2 separate regions of the Homo sapiens genome follow, and region 1 is linked to region 2. Evidence: promoter capture Hi-C in 16 types of primary human blood cells and fetal thymus (Javierre and others, 2016). All regions are on one chromosome and are shown on one strand. Each heading gives the region's core, a stretch centred on a gene start or on the middle of the fragment in contact. The rest is flanking DNA. Distances are from core to core; before and after follow the strand shown. Region 1 overlaps ADAMTS3 (ADAM metallopeptidase with thrombospondin type 1 motif 3). Region 2 holds the start of SLC4A4 (solute carrier family 4 member 4).

Evidence for each region. Contacts are between HindIII fragments. The CHiCAGO score rates a contact against its expected background, and 5 or more counts as called.
Region 1: a contact is called between a fragment that was not itself captured here and the fragment with the promoter of SLC4A4 in region 2, in 2 of 17 cell types (monocytes and naive B cells). The highest score is 8.4, in monocytes.

Annotation. Positions count from the first base shown.
Region 1 is chr4:72,304,813-72,307,512 of GRCh38, reverse strand. It overlaps ADAMTS3 (ADAM metallopeptidase with thrombospondin type 1 motif 3), which reads left to right. Exons shown (of 22, transcript NM_014243.3): 16 at 1,446-1,526. Among named protein-coding and RNA genes, the nearest start is that of ADAMTS3, 260 kb to the left of the region's middle. The HindIII fragment of the contact is 1,092 bases long and covers 878-1,969 here.
Region 2 is chr4:71,185,841-71,188,540 of GRCh38, reverse strand. It overlaps SLC4A4 (solute carrier family 4 member 4), which reads right to left and starts at 1,282. Exons shown (of 26, transcript NM_001098484.3): 1 at 1,140-1,282. It overlaps LOC124900712 (a long non-coding RNA gene), which reads left to right and starts at 2,017. Exons shown (of 2, transcript XR_007058133.1): 1 at 2,017-2,700. The HindIII fragment of the contact is 10,115 bases long and covers 1-2,700 here.

The DNA of each region.
Region 1 (2,700 bases), core at 174-2,673, 1.1 Mb before region 2:
GACATTCTATTTAAGGGAAGACAAGAGGCGCTTTCACTTTACCCAAAGGAGCTCGTAATATTTCTCTTGCTGAAACAAGAGAAGCTAAAAACGTACTGGGTAAGTTGTAGCAAACTGCAGAAAGATGGGCATCCATAAATGGCATCAAGCTGTTTTGCTGTACTTGGCATCTTAAGCATGTTCCTTTTAGCCACTGTGTACTCAGGCAAACATGGTACATTTCATGTGTTAGACTTTACCCCAGGCTAAAGTGCTGAACACCCTGATCCCAAAAGGACCACTTTATTTAGTTAGGACACTAATAAATATTGTGAAAAACTTAGGTAAATCTATTCATAGGTGTATATTATTATACATATACAAATGACAAAAACACTTGTTTTTTCTTATTTCATCAATAATTGTGGATTGATAACTGGATTTCTGTTAATATTCTCCATAGAATATGTATTGGATGTTTCATAATGTATTGAAGGTGTAGGTTACATAATCATTTTATATTCATTTATTTGTATGATAATGAGATGTATAACATCTGTTCTAATTGACCTGACTATTGTCAGGTCATAATATTTATGATTTATGGTCATAATCTTAATTCTAAATGATTGTAAGATAATTTTTAGGACATGTGATAGTATCAACATAGTATGTGATATATGACATTTACAGTAATAGGAATGATATATGATTTTAAAACACAAAGCAACCTATTAAGCATATTGATTTTCTTATTTCTGGCTTAGGAGGTTTTGAGGTTAGGGTGCATATAAAGGCAATGCATAACACATCTTGCACACATTTTCCAACTAAGTGGTTTAAAATCCATGTTGTCGATTTGGTTAAAATAGTCCCATCATAAAACTTGCCTAAAGCTTTAAAATTAATACTGATCACAAGAAAAATGAAAGCACTGATTTTTCTGTTGTAACTCCTTTAGAATAAAGAAGGCTTTAAATATGAAAATATTTTAATAATTAGAAGTTTAGCTGTCTATACTTCCCTCTTAGACTTTTAAAATAACATGTAAGCAGATAACATATCCCAAAAAGTTTACAACTTAAGTGAACTTTCACTAAAAATTGACTCCACTTCAAAAGGATGGTTTAGAAAACTAGAATCACACAGAGGGACACAGGAAAGTATAGTATTTGCCTGAATTGTTGTTCACATCATTTGAAGGTCAACGCAAGATAAGTGACTAATACGTTGGTAACAAGATTAACTTTTTTCCCTCTTTAATAAAAAAAAAAGTTGCCTCTAATTTCATGTTGGATGTCACAAAAGCTACCAATGCTTTGAAGTTAATTTCCGAAACTGCTTCTTTAAATTTATGGATGCCCTCTTCTGCACGCAGAAGCAGTAAGAATGTAGTGCTCAACTAACCATGGTTGTTGCTTTTGTTTTCTTCTTTGCTTCCTACAATATTTACTACACATGCAAAGGGTACCTTAAGATGTTTGATATACCCCCTGGGGCTAGACATGTGTTAATCCAAGAAGACGAGGCTTCTCCTCATATTCTTGGTAAGTGTTTCTGTCTGCTGTCTCTGCTTTAACATGCACTGAAACATTGAAATGTCAAAGAAATCCTAAATATAGATATGTATATATGTACACATATATGTGCATACGTATATGTACATACATGTGCATACGTATATGTACGTACATGTGCATACGTATATGTGCGTACATGTGCATGATGTGCATGCGTATATGTGCGTACATGTGCATGTGTATATGTGTGTACATGTGCATATGTATATGTACATACATGTGCATACGTATATGTAAGAATCAAAATAATATATAAATGCATTAATTGAATGTTATGTAGGTTTTTTTTGGTCATTTCTCCCAACTATGCTTACTTTAAAACAAGAAACATAAAAAAAGTAGAGCTTTAATTTTGTATAGAAACTGGGGTTGGTTCCTAACTATATGAGGGAAAAATCATTTGACAAGCTTATATTTCTTATACACTTTTTGCTCTAAGGAATAAGAAAATAAATATGTTAATAAAATCCACTAAATCAAGGAATATCAGAAAAATTCATCATACTTATGTTTACAAATAAGTTCTGATATTTTGATTGATCCAATACTGTACGTATCCTTATTTTTATTGTATTTCACATTCTTTGAAAAGCAACCACAGGTGAATTTTACTAATCTAATCTTAAATTATTCTAATATCTGACATGTGTCAGGTTTTTGACTGGCACATGCAGATCCATTTGCCACGGAGAGCTGATTATAATTTCCACAAGAAGATTTTTTTTTCTTTTATGAGACGATTACATGGAAATGTCACTTTAAAGAGGTTTACATTTAAATTGTATAGACAAGTGTAAACATAACTTACTTATTCCTTGGCCTATAAGAACACTAAGATAATTTCTGAAGCTAAGACATCACGTATCAACTCCATGAAAATTTGTAGCAAATTGTTTTATTTCAGTTGTGACTTTAAAAAGTGCATTGTTTTATGGTGTTTCATAGAATTTTTAAACACATTTAATTTATATTCACTACTAAATGTCGTAATAGTCTAGCAGTCAGCTATAGTTCTCTCTCAAGCATTTAAAATCCCTTATTTTTCATCCTAGAATTCATATTAATGTCCTTGGAAAAAATAGACCAGTTTAAAGCCCAAGAGGAATAAATACATTTAATTAAAATTACTCATGTTTTTCAC
Region 2 (2,700 bases), core at 33-2,532:
GAAAGGAACTGCTGCAGGATTTGAGACAATGAGCGTTTAGTACAGCCCAGTGTTCTTGATTTCTCATTAGGAGCAACTTTCCAGGGCACTGAAGCGAACCAGGAAAAGAAATGGGGAGGGTAAGCCAAAGGGGTCGCTGCTCTTCAGTGTCAAGTTGGAAAGAGCTTGCTGCGATCAATTATGCTGAGAAGGTAGGGCCTTGAGAGGGAAGGAAGGATAGAAAAAAACAGTTTTACAGGGCGCTGAAAAAAGTGATAGAAGAGAGGTAGAACTGCTTCCTCCATCTTTCACGTCAAGTTCAAGTTTTTCTTTTTGTTCTATAAGAACTTTTGTCTTTATGGTGCTTGCTGCGGTTTGCTGATGTAGTTCCCAGGTCCTGCCTTCCTCTGGTGACTTATTAACGGACTGGCAACGGCTGAGTAAAATGCACTTAAGAAAAAAGAAATCACCTCTCTTTGCCAAGACTCACATGCTGCCCAGTACCTGAGGGAGAGCTCCGTTGTCGCTGGCCAAGAGAAATTCCAGTTTAACCTATGCCTCCCCTAGCCAAATCCATTGCAAATAAATGTGTGTGTGCCACTTGCAGAGAATCTGCCTGACTCACCCCCCGCCTTTGGCGTGCCAGGGAGAGATGTAAATGCTCCGTCCTGGAGCTGGCAGTGAAGTGGGGGCCGCGGCCTCGGTAGCACCAAGAGTCCCCAAATCTCCCCCTGTGATGGGTTTAGGGATGTGTTCCTCTCAAGCAGGTGCCTGGTCACAGGGCGACCACCCAGGCTCACAGCAACACACGTGTCACTGAGCCCGAGCCCAGCCCGCCGCAGAACTGGCCCCGCAGTCCTCGTAAAGACGCCCAGTTGCGCGCAGGGGACTTAGCAGTGAGGGAGAAGCAGACCACCCAAACTCTTCCTCTAAACCCTAAGAAGGAAAAAAAATACTTTTCCGCGGAAGCAGCCTCCACACACCGCCCGCGCCCAGCTCAGGGGATGCCCGGCCCGCAATTGACCTCTCTCTCCCTCCCAGGAGCGCGCTGAGGCCGCCTGCGCGCCCTACGGAATCGGCCCCCGGGCCCGCGCCCGCCTCCGCCTTGGAGCGAGGGACCCCATCGACCCTCCCGGCAGCTGCCGGGGCCGGGCGCTCACCTCCTGGGGTCTGGCTTCCGTCGCTCCTCCAGTTTGGCGGCGGAGTGTGGGGCTGCAGCGGCCACTGCCACTGCCGCCGCCGCCGCCGCCTTCGCTGCCACCGCGGCCGCCGCCGCCACCGAAGCGCTGCCCGGCGCGCCGCCGGGGTTGGAGGCTGGGGGGCCGCGGAATCCCTGGAGGCGCGAGCCCGGGACGCGGCGGGGCCGAGCCGCGGGAAGTTGTCTGCGCCGGGCGCGGAGCGAGCGGGGCGCCAGTCACCCGCGCCCAAGTAGTCACAACTTTGCCGCCTGGGTGGGTGCGCGCTCCGGAGAGAGGCGAGCGCGGGAGAGCGGGGCAAAGGCGCTGGGGCGGGAGGGTCTTCGGAGCAGGCAGGACTGCAACCTGAACGGCCCGCGAGGAAAGGGGAAAGGTGGCGCGGGGGGATGTCTACACAGCCTGTGTGGTGCGCGGCGAGCGAGTGTGTAAGAGCGCGGGCGTCTACTCTACTTTGCCTCCTGCAGCTCCTGCATATTTATGGGGATCTCTGATGTTCCTGCTAGTAACTAACACTGCAGCAGTGGAGCCCAGCCCAGGCGCCCCTCGGGAGCAAGCCGGGGTGCGGGGGCTCACGGAAGGCGGCCGCGGCGGAGGCTGTGCCGCGAGCGCGAGCCTGCGATCCATATTTAAAGCCGTAAGTGGCCTCGGCCGGCCCCCTGCCCTGCCCTCGCTCGTGCCCGCCAGCCCGGCCCCCACCGCTCCGGGCCGCTGCTCGGCGTCAGCCGCCCGGGCATCGGCGGCGGGGAGGGGCCTCGAGCCGCGCCGCCTCCGCCGGGGGCTTGGGCTCTGTGCGCAGCGCCCGCCCGGAGCTGGCGGAGGACCCGGCTCCGGACCGGCCGCTCTTGCCTCCCAGGTTCCTTTTCTCTCACGCCCTGGGCTGGGTCCTAGGTCCAGCTTTTTGTCCTACTCAAAAGAGTTCCCCAGTGGGGAGAGCCTGTGCTTTCATGCAGAACTAAAATTGCGTGAGTTTCCCAGCTCAGATCACTCTTGACTCTACTTTATAAAACTTGGGGCGTATAGAGTGCTGCCATAACACAGTATTAAGTAATTGTTCACCTTTAACAAAAGATGTCTGAAGATAACGTGGTTGTCAACTGTGTCCTTCACTTATGTCACTGATGCCTTTCTGTCTTCCTTGGGAGTTAGGAAAACAGCCTTAGCAAAGTGATTATTTGTATTTATTCTGTTCCTAAGTCTAATAATGAGGTTCAAGTACTCTTTGCCAAGCAAATAATATATCAGTGATCCAGCACCATTGCCATTGGTAAACTATTGAATCATAAGTAAACCATTAAGATATGAACAGACTGTCAGCACAGACACACCATCTATTGTTCTGGGTACTGCTAGAGAGTAGTCACTTAATGGATTGCAACCACATGGTATATCATGCAAGTGTATATCATTTTCTAGTAATACATATTATATGTAATGTGTATGTGGACATCACTGACCAAACTGTGTTTTCAACAGTAGCCACCAAAATGCATAAAGCTCAAGAGAAATAATTTAACATACCAACTGC